Regions from separate parts of the Homo sapiens genome. Here region 1 is linked to region 2. The links are contacts of gene promoters, found by promoter capture Hi-C in human tissues and cell types (Jung and others, 2019). All regions are on one chromosome and are shown on one strand. Each heading gives the region's core, a stretch centred on a gene start or on the middle of the fragment in contact. The rest is flanking DNA. Distances are from core to core; before and after follow the strand shown. Region 1 has its middle 8.8 kb from the start of APLP2. Region 2 holds the start of TMEM45B (transmembrane protein 45B).

Region 1 (5,406 bases), core at 1,592-4,091, 250 kb after region 2:
TGAAGGCATCCAGCGCATTTTGTTTGCGCCCCGTCTTCTTACCTCCGTTCCCTAGTTACTGACTCAGGGGTGAGTATGTGACCCTGTTCAATCAGAGAATGTCAGGACTCCTGTTGGGAAGGCTGGGCGAGAAGCTGTTTTTTCTTCTGGATAATTTCCTGTGCAGATGTAGGATGAGACCTGCAACTATTGTGAATGATCTGCCATCAGCCTGCAGGTGAAGCTTTCCCAGGAGGAGCAAGAGCATCACAGAGCCGTGAGCTGAGGTCCTGACGGAAACCATGCCTGATCCCTGCCCCTTTAGGCTTTTCCAGTTGTGTGGGTCAATAAACACTATTTTTCTTTCGATCAGGTTGAGTAGACATTTCTATTATTTACAGCCAAAAACATCCTGATGAGACAAGTGCTCCCTATAATTCTCATTAATTCATTCTAAATGAGTTAATATCTGCTAAGGCGCTTAGGACAATGCGTGGCATGTAGTGAGTGCTAATGAGAGTTATAGTTACTGTCATCGATAAAAGTGTTACTGTTACAAAATGAAGACAATAATGACTGCCCTGTCTTTTTTTTTTTTTTTTTCTGAGATGGAGTCTCACTCTGTCATCCAGGCTGGAGTGCAGTGGCGTGATCACAGCTCACTGCAACCTCCACCTCCCTGGTTCAAGCAATTCCCCTGCCTCAGCTGCCCAAGTAGCTAGGATTACAGGTGTACACCACCACGCCTGGCTAATTTTTTTTGTATTTTTAGTAGGGACAGGGTTTCACCATGTTGGCCAGACCTGTCTCGAACTCCTGACCTCAGGCAATCCACCTGCCTCGGCCTCCCAAAATGCTGGGATTACAGGTGTGAGCCACTGCACCCGGCAACAAGGTTTTATTTGTTTATTTATTTATTTATTGTTGTGACAGATTCTTGTCTGTCACCCAGGCATCATCGTGCCACTGCAGCCTTGAACTCCTAGACTCAAGGGATCCTCCCACCTCAGCCTCCCAAATAGCTGAGACTACGAGTGTGCACCACTGTGCCTGGCTGTTATTTTTATTTTTAGTAGAGACGGGTCTTGCTTTGCTGCCCAGGCTAAGTTATTGTTGATAAGATCAAGAAAGACAAAAGAAAAGTGAAAGATTACTCCCTCCGTTATAAACGTAACATATATCCATTATAGGAATATTTTTTAAAGAATAAAACAATCACTTATAATCCTATTATCCAGAAAAAAATATGTTGGTTCATTTTCTTTCAGTCGACTTTAAATGCATAAGAGAAATTTTTCCACATATGCAATTCCTACTATGACTTCTGAAATTTTAACACATCTTATAAGCATTTTTCCATAATTTATTCTCATTTGGATTATTTTCCTAGGATGGATTCCTAGAAATGAAATAAGTGAGTTTTACATGGTTCTTTTAAATATGAAAGGAAATGATGGACACAAAACAAATTTGAAAATTCAAAAGCGTCATACAAATATGAGCTTCTCTTTCCCTAAACTTGCACTGCAACCATAAATAACCAACCAGAACTACCTACTGTCCTGTACCAAGCCCTTATTATATGCTGTATGCTGAGCTAAACATGTAAGCATTTTATCCATTATTCCACTTAGTCTTTCTAAGATGCCTGCTAAAAAGCTGATGATATCCCATAGCTGTCAAGTTAAAGGACAAAATCATTGTCCCTTAGGAATCCTCTTCTCTCTCGTCATTCTTATATGGCATCATGCTACTTCCATGTTAATACCCACACAGATGCCTTTGCCTGGCTGAGCACCTGTTCGCCACAGCCACCTTCTTTGTCCAGGTGGCTCCCACCTTTCCAAACTCAGTTAAAGCATGTTTTCCTTTGAGAAGTTTTCCCTGTTATCCTAACACTTTTAAATGCTGAACTAAGAGCCTTTACTAAATTGAGATTAGGAAGCACAAGCAAAGTATATTGAACATAGTAGGTGCCAAATAAATATTGAATTAATTTTTTTTTAAGAGACAGGGTCTGCTGTGTTGCCCAGGCTGGCCTCAAATCCTCAAATTCCTAAGCTCATGCGATCCTCTCACTCCAGCCTCCTGTGTAGCTGAGGCTACAGGAGTGCTACCACATCTGACTCTTTAATGAATTATTATTACATGAACTTGGTGTAGATATCTCATCAGGAAATGTTGGTTACATTATTAATAAAATACACATTGTCCAGAAAAAGAATGAATTTTCTGGGTAGTTTGTGTTTAGTATGTGAAATATTGTGTTCAGTTTTGGATTCTATACTTTTAGAGGCTGATTGGTAAATTGGAATGTATACAGAGATCTAAGGATGGTAAGAATGGAAACAGTATTACAAGTAAAATGGTTAAAGAAGTGAATCTGTTTATTAAAGAAAAGACTTTGTATGGCCAGGCTTGGTGGCTCACGCCTATAAATCTCAGCACTTTGGGAGGCCGAGGTGGGCAGATCACTTGAGGTCAGGAGTTCAAGACCAACCCGTCCAACATGGCGAAACCCCATCTCTACTAAAAATACAAAAATTAGCCAGGTGTGGTGGCGCGTGGCTATAATCTCAGCTACTCAGGAGGCTGCGGCACAAGAATCACTTGAACCCGGGAGGCAGAGGTTGTAGTGAGCCCAGATCACACCACTGCACTCTAGCCTGGGCAACAGAGCAAGACTCTGTCAAAAAGAAAGAAAGAGAGGAAGGAAGGAAGGAAGGAAGGAAAGAAGGAAGGAAGGAAGGAAGGAAGGAAGGAAGGAAGGAAGGAAGAAGGGGAAGGGGAAGGAAAGGGAAAGGGAAGGGGAAGGGGAAGGAAGGAAAGAAAGGAAAGAAAGAAAAGACTTTGCGGGTGATAGTGGGGGTGTGCAGAATGGGGTATGACAGCCACCTTTAATTATGTGATGAAGATTAGTTCAATAAAAAGACAAAATGTCCAGCCAATGGAGCTGTGAACTTCTCTGTCCTTCTATTGTAGTAAATGACTTCCACACCAGGCAGAAAGATGACACAAATACCTTCAAACTCTGATGTGGGGCATGTCAAGAAAGCAGTTTTACATCAGCTTTTCTGAAAAGCAAGTACCATGTAAAAATCACCAACGATAAGAACTTTTAGTATAAGCAGCTCCCAGCGCTGAGGTTTTTTTCACCATTATTTTGTATTTTCTGCACTGAAGGCAGAAGAAATTATTCAAAGAAGGACCAAACAAGAATACCAAACAACGTAGCATTACTACAGGTAGATGAGAAAATAGCCACAACACAGAGGGAGAACAAACCGACTGAAGTACAGGGAATGAGATGGTTTCTTTCAAATAAGGGTTAAGGGCTGGGCGGTGCGGTGGCTCACACCTGTAATTCCAGCACTTTGGGAGGCTGAGATGGGCAGATTGCCTGAGCTCAGGAGTTTGAGACCAGCTCGGGTAACATGGTGAAACCCCATCTCTACAAAAATATAAAAAATCAGCCAGGCATGATGGCAGGCGCCTGTAATCTCAGCTACTCGGGAGGCTGGGGAAGGAGAACTGCTTGAACCCGGGAGGCTTGCGGCGAGCCGAGATCGCGCCACTGCACTCCAGCCTGGGCAACAAAGAAAAACTCTGTCTCAAAAAACAAAAAACAAATAAGACTTAGGAACAATAATAAATGAAGGAAGCTAACTAGGCAGGGCTATATATGAGGACAGTTCCTGCAGGAGGGATTTGCAGCCAGAGGTGGTTTTTCTGCAGAGCTAATGCAGAGCAAGCTTCCAGGCCACTCTTTTGCCCCAGTTTCTTCCGAGGCTGTGGTAGGACCCCAAGCAATCTCGTACTGTTTCTCTTCAAGAGAGCACCTGACTTATGTAAGTTTTAGGACTTGCAAAACCTGTTTTCAAGCCTGTAAACCAGTTTACCACCAAAACAAAACTTAGTATACGCATAAGGTGTTTAAAGATTTTTTTGTAGCATTTAATTTTAGACATGCCCACATACCCGGATTGTAATCAGTTAAATTAATATTGTCTTTGAAAACAAAACATACTCTAGGACCAGATTCTTTTCCATATCAAGGCCCTGCTTTGGCATCGAATCTGGGGACCCTGTATTGATTTTAAATACTTGATATTTTTGTCTACTTGACTTATTTGATAAAAGCAGACCCTTAGTCTAGATCAGTAGGAGGTAGAAGAAAGGCTTTATAAACGATTTAAATCTTAATTACCTATTAATGTGGTAAACGTGTGTATTATATAAGGTTAAACCTGTTCTGCCTCAAGCAACTGCATTGCTTCCCTCTGAGAAGTGATTCCACCTGCTCAGCATCAGCGGCAAACAGAACACAGAAGCACCCTAAAGAGCTGGGTGTGATGGTACGCGCCTGTAATCCCAGCTACTCAGGAGACTGAAGCGGGAGGATCCCTGAAGTCCAAGGAGTTCGAGGCTGTATTGTGTCATGATCATGCCAGTGATAGCCACAGCACTCCAGCCTGGGCAACATAGTGAGACCTCATCTCTAATAAGTTAAAAAAAAAAAAAAGCGCTGGTGTGGTGGCTTACACCTGTAATCCTAGCACTTTGGGAGGCCGAGGCCAGTGGATCACTTGAGCCCAGGAGTTTGAGACCAGCCTGGGCAACATGGCAAAATCCCTTCTCTACAAAAAATATAAAAATTAGCAGGCTATGGTGGCACATGCCTGTAGTCCCAGCTACCTGGGAGACTGAAGTGGGAAGATCACCTTAGCCTGCTAAAATAGAGGCTGCAGTGAGCCATGATTGTGCCACTGCACTCCAGCCTGGGTAACAGAGTGAGACCCTGTCTCAAAAACAAAACAAAACAAAACAAAACAAAACAAAACAAAACAAAACAAAACAAAAGGGAAGAAAAAAAAAATTCAACCTGAGGCTGATTTTTTTTAAGTGTTCTAAGTAGTAGAGAAAGATGCAACAGCTAAATACATTTTTATAAGGACTCTTCTGTTTATTATTAAGCATGTGACTTTACAGACTATCACACAGCCTGAAAATGTAAGGAAAAGGAATGACAAGCCATTGAAACATTTTTATGCATCCATTGAGGGCTGTATCAGACTAATATTTTCCGATATTTGGTAGGGAGTTGGTTAGCATGATGTGATCAGGAGACCATATATTTCTAAGTCAGTAAAACCAGGATTCAGTTTCCTTCTCTGCTAGTACTGGTTTTGGCTATTGACAAGTTATTTAACCTCTTTGAGCCTCAGTTTTCTCATCTGTAAAATGGGTTTAATACACATTTTACAAATCTCAACTGGGTCTCTTTCATTTTCAATTTTTTCCCTTCCACCACTGCCTCCTTATCAGTGACAAACAGGAACAACAACCAAGTTCTCCACCCATACCCTACAAGAGCTACTCTCCTAGTTTTTGCTCTTTCAACGGGGAACTTCTGGGAAGAGACAAGAC
Region 2 (5,105 bases), core at 481-2,980:
TGCCGCGGACCTTCACGGCATTATAGTTCTTAAACATGGTGTGTCCGGAGTTTGTTCCTTCAAATGTTCAGGTGTGTCCGAAGTTTTTTCTTTCTAGAGAGTTCGTGGTCTATGCACGACTTGATGAGTGAGGCCGCGGACCTTCGCAGGGAGTGTTACAGCTCTTAAAGGTGGCGCATCCGCGTTGTTCCTTCCTCCCAGCGGGTTCGTAGTTTCGCCGACCTCAGGAGTGAAGCCACAGACCTTCGCAGGGAGTGTTACACCTCTTAAAAGTGGTGCGTCTGGAGTTGTTTGCTCCTCCCTGTGGGTTCGTGGTGTCGCTGACTTCAGGAGTGAAGCCACAGACCTTCACAGTGAGTGTTATGGCTCTTAAAGGTGGCGGCTCCAGAGTTGTTTCTTGTGGTGGCTTCCTGGTCTCGCTGGTTTACAGGAGTGAACCTGCAGACCTTCACTGTGAGTGTTAAAGCTCATAAAGGTAGTGTGGACCTAAAAGGTGAGCAACAGCAAAATTTATTGCAAAGAGCGAAACAACAAAACCCCAACACCATCGAAGGGGACCCAAACGCAGCTGCCGCTGGCTCGGATGGCCAGCTTTTATTCCCTCATTGGCCCCGCCCACATCCTCCTGATTGGTCCTGCCCACATCCTCCTGATTGGTCCATTTTACAGAGCGCTGATTGGTCCATTTTACAGAGTGCTGATTGGTCCATTTTACAGAGTGCTGATTGGTCCGTTTTTACAGAGTGCTGATTGATGTGTTTACAAACCTTTAGCTAGACATAGAGCATTGATTGGTGCATTTACAATCCTTTGGCTAGAGAGAAAAGTTCTCCAAGTCCCCACCAATTAGCTGGACACAGAGCACTGATTGGTGCATTTTTACAGAGTGCTGATTGGTGTGTTTACAAACCTTTAGCTAGACACAGAGTGCAGATTGATGCTTTTACAATCCTTTAGCTAGACAGAAAAGTTCTCCAAGTCCCCATCCGACCCAGAAGCCCAGCGGGTTTCACCTCTCAGTAGCTTACAGAAGAGGACCCTGCTGCCACAGCACAATACCACAAAGAAAGTCATGCTCTCCTCAGCAGGTAGCCCCCTTCTCCGGGACAGGAACTTTGTTTCCTTCTTAGCTCTATCGCCAGCACCTAGAACAGTGCCCACCTGTCAGATCTGTTATCAGATGGGAACATGGCAGATTTGTTGAATGAATGAAGGAATGAATGAACTATGTGACACTCAAACTTAGCCACCAAACTTAAACTAAAAAAACTGGGTTGTGGTCCCTGATGGACCGTTGGCACCTTCTTCCTTTGCTGGACGGTGATCCGTGGCTGTTTCTGCGGTGTGTTCGCAGTGGTTGCCTGGCTTGGTAACAAACACTCTTCGGAGCCACAGCCTGTTCTCAGGGTCCTCGCCGCCTCCCAGGCCCTGCGATCTCTTTGCATCTCAGGAGGTCCAGGTTGGTTGCAGTCCTCTTGGGTGACTCAGGAACCAGCCTCTCCTGAAGCACACAGCTTAGGGAGTTCCTGAGGCCAGAGACATCTCCACGGGAAAGTCAAAGGCCTGGAGGAAGTGCGGACCTGACGACAGATGCCCCGCACGCTGGCCGGGACCGGGAAGGGCGGTCAAGGGTGGAAAGGGGCTGGCGGCTGCCAGGCCTGGCGGAGTGGAGCGGGGCGGGGCGCAGCGGGGCGGGGCGGGCCTGGAGCTGCACCTGCTTCTGGGCGGACGCACTTGGCGCGCGGCGCGGGCTGCAGACGGCTGCGAGGCGCTGGGCACAGGTCAGACGTCCGTACCCGCAGGGGGCTCGAACCTGGAGGAGGGCTCGAAGGGAGAGGGGGCCCCGCCAAGGAGCGGGGCTGTGATGGAGAGGAGGTTCCGACTCGCAGGGGACCTGCGGGGGAGGGGACGCGGACAGGGAGGGGCTCTGGGACAGGGGTGAAGGCTGCGCTAGGGGAGGACGGGAGGGGATGGAGGGCCCTGGTGTCGCGGAAGCCCAGCTGGGGCCCCCTCCGGGCTGCGGAACCGGTGCGCACACTACTCCCACCGCCCCCGAGTGCCTCTGTCCGGCTGGCCGCGGCCCTGGAACGAATATTGCTCAGTCCCCCGCGAGTCAGGTCTGCCGCGTTGCCCGGTGAGGGGAAGGTGTGAAGCCCCGGGCCTCCGTCTGCCCGGTGAGTCCGGGGACGCGCGCCCCCGGGGATGCCATCTGGCTCCTGGGCTGTGACCAGTCACAGCTCACATAGCTCTGGGCACTGGTACCGACTGCCTTTCCTTGTTAGCTGCGATACACAAATACACGAGCCAGATCCTTTCCTGAGGCCAGGAAGCCTGGAATCTAATAACACCGGGCGGTGGATAAAGTCCCCCGAGCCAGTGCTTAGCTTCCGTTAATGGAGCCATGGATGGAAGCGGATGTCAGGCGCAGTGGGGGAGAAATTTGCGGGGGTGGCCCTGTCTAGGGCCAGAGAAACAACCTCTGAAGCTTTGATCCAGCCCTAGAGGGAAGAAAGATGTGAGTTTCAGCCAGGGAAACGTAGCACTTTAAGAAATAGAAACCCTTTCAAAATTTGAGGGCAGGTAGCTCTCCTAAAAGTTGCAGAAATGGCCACTTCTTTTTTTTTTTTTTTTTTTTTTTGAGACGGAGTCTCGCTCTGTCGCCCAGGCTGGAGTGCAGTGGCGCAATCTCGGATCACTGCAAGCTCCACCTCCCGGGTTCACACCATTCTCCTGCCTCAGCCTCCCGAGTAGCTAGGACTACTGGCGCCCGCCACCACGCCCGGCTAATTTTTTGTATTTTTTTTTTTTTTGGTAGAGACGGGGTTTCACCGTGTTAGCCAGGATGGTCTCGATCTCCTGACCTCATGATCCACCCGCCTCAGCCTCCCAAAGTGCTGGGATTACAGGCGTGAACCACCGCGCCCAGCTAGAAATGGCCACTTCTTTCACGTTCTCTTCGACCGCTTTCTGCGGTGTCTGCCCTTTTCCTCCTCCTGCACCTTTTTGTCTCCTAGGGTCGCATAGCCTTCCAAACAGGCCTGCCTACAGCATTTTACCTGCAATTTTACACTCATTTTAATAGAAAGGATGGCTTATTGTTCATGAGAGACGTGTACTGTTTTTAACCAGATGTGTAATATCTTCAGTATAACCTGGATGTTGTGCAGTGGGAAGTTATGGAAAGAATCAGGACACGTGGTTAGGTAGGGGCCCAGGGGCGTCAGACTTAGCTCTTTGTGACAGTGAGCTTCTTGGTTTAATAAGGATATTGGCTCCCTCTGTTCCTGGGGTTTCTGGGAAAAGATATGGAACTGATATGAAGGTTTTATTGAATATGGCCCACTGATTTTACAAGTGGAGGTGACTGAGATAAGCAGAAGGTGAGGCATGACCTCTGGCTGTGCATTATTTGTTCTGATATTACAGGAGCCAAGCATTCCATTTCCTTCTTTTTAAAGAGCTTTGATTTCCTCTCACATCTTCATGAAGATGGAAACAGTGCCCCCACTTACTTATCCTCAGGCCACACCTGTTCCCATTTATTCCATGAGTTCCTCCCACACCCTTCTGGTTGATGTTGGTTGTGATGGTCGAGGTAATTGAATCTCACATTTGGCACCAGTTATTTCTGTTTCTCATCTCCCCCCTACCTGCAGTTAAACATCAGCTGCTATACTTAACTGTTCAAAGTACAGATGTTACCTGTGTTGGGTGTAATCAAAAGATTATCTCTTTTCCTCAAATGAAAAATGGGTGAGGACAGTTTCACCACACATAGAGTCACTCCCCTAGCCAAAGTCCTTGCTATTGCAAAACTTTTTACTGTAAGAGAATTAAAGTCACTAGTGTGTCATCAACTAATGGTACTTATAGACACATTCCATATTTGTTTCTATAGAAAGATCATAAGACAAACACTAGATTATTCCCAGTATGAGACCATACTGAATATGAACAATTAGAGGCCACAGGTGAGTGCTGTCCTCCTCACACTTTCTTTGAACTCTTAAGCTTCTACTCTTTTAACCAGCTACCCCTCTCCCCAAAACCTTCACTGAGGCTAGAAACAAACACAAATAGACTATTTGAATTTTAGCAAATTTTATCTCTCTTTTCTATTCTCTTGTGTAAAACTTAAATGGCCACAAGCTACACTACTGGAGGAAAAAGGAAAGCTAAAAGGTCTATCAGCCTTCTGTATGTGATGCAGAGTTCAACTGAATATAGCAAGGTACACACCCGCATTCTCCTTGCCAGGACTTAGATATCATAAGCCATTATCTTGCTGGTTGTTGAAATCATAATGGGGCTTTATAGAGCACAAGGCGATGTTTGTAAACAGCACTGTTCAGGTCAGATTAGAATCCGTATTTCAAAAATGAGGAGATGGAAACAGAGATATTGTGTATGTGGTCCAGGGTTAGCCAGTAATTAAATGGCAGAGCCAGAACTCAAACCAACATTCCTTCCAGAATACCACAGCTGCCTCTGGAGTGGTTTTTGTTGTTCTTGTTGAATTTTGTGATGGAAGATTGTGATTTGTTTTTCCCGAACACTTAATATGTTTTCTGACTTGAATTATCAGAATCTAAATTTAGAAACTCTCTCGTTTGGTATATTTCATGCCCATCTTTGTTCCATATAATTACAAAAATATCTTAGAGCTGAGTATAACCTTAAAGATTGTCAAGTCCAATCTTGTGGTTTTTCAAGGAAGAAAACCGGATTTAAGAAAAATAAAGCAAGTACCTCATGTTGCTTCCCCAAATCTACTTCATTGGAGAATTACAGCTAAAAACAATGTTCAGATTTTTGCTCCTTCTGTCATGTGGTCCCTTGAGAATTTGCCAAATGTATAAATCCAGTGACTTATTTTGATGTACTCTTTTGGTTTGAGGTCTGTGACAGCAAACATAACCTCCTTGAATCCCAGCCTCAAATGCCTATGGACCTTCTGTTCTAACTGTTATTATAACTGTAGCCGTTATTATAGTGGCTAAAGTTCTAACTTCTGTTCTAACTGTGCTCCTGGTTCCATGACAAAGAGAGCTTTACTTGTCTTATTCCTAGCACAGTGCCCATAGCAGGCATACATAAAATGTGGT

Evidence for each region. The method cuts DNA at HindIII sites, captures the fragments that hold promoters and counts their contacts. A contact is called where the count stands out against the background at its distance.
Region 1: a contact is called between a fragment that was not itself captured here and the fragment with the promoter of TMEM45B in region 2, in 1 of the 25 tissues and cell types used here (H1 embryonic stem cells).

The regions. Positions count from the first base shown.
Region 1 is chr11:130,058,394-130,063,799 of GRCh38, forward strand. No RefSeq gene overlaps it. Among named protein-coding and RNA genes, the nearest start is that of APLP2, 8.8 kb to the right of the region's middle. The HindIII fragment of the contact is 6,224 bases long and covers 1-5,406 here.
Region 2 is chr11:129,814,118-129,819,222 of GRCh38, forward strand. TMEM45B (transmembrane protein 45B) reads left to right here and starts at 1,731. Exons shown (of 6, transcript NM_138788.5): 1 at 1,731-1,781. LOC124902793 (a long non-coding RNA gene) reads right to left here and starts at 570. Exons shown (of 2, transcript XR_007062952.1): 1 at 1-570. The HindIII fragment of the contact is 7,942 bases long and covers 1-3,248 here.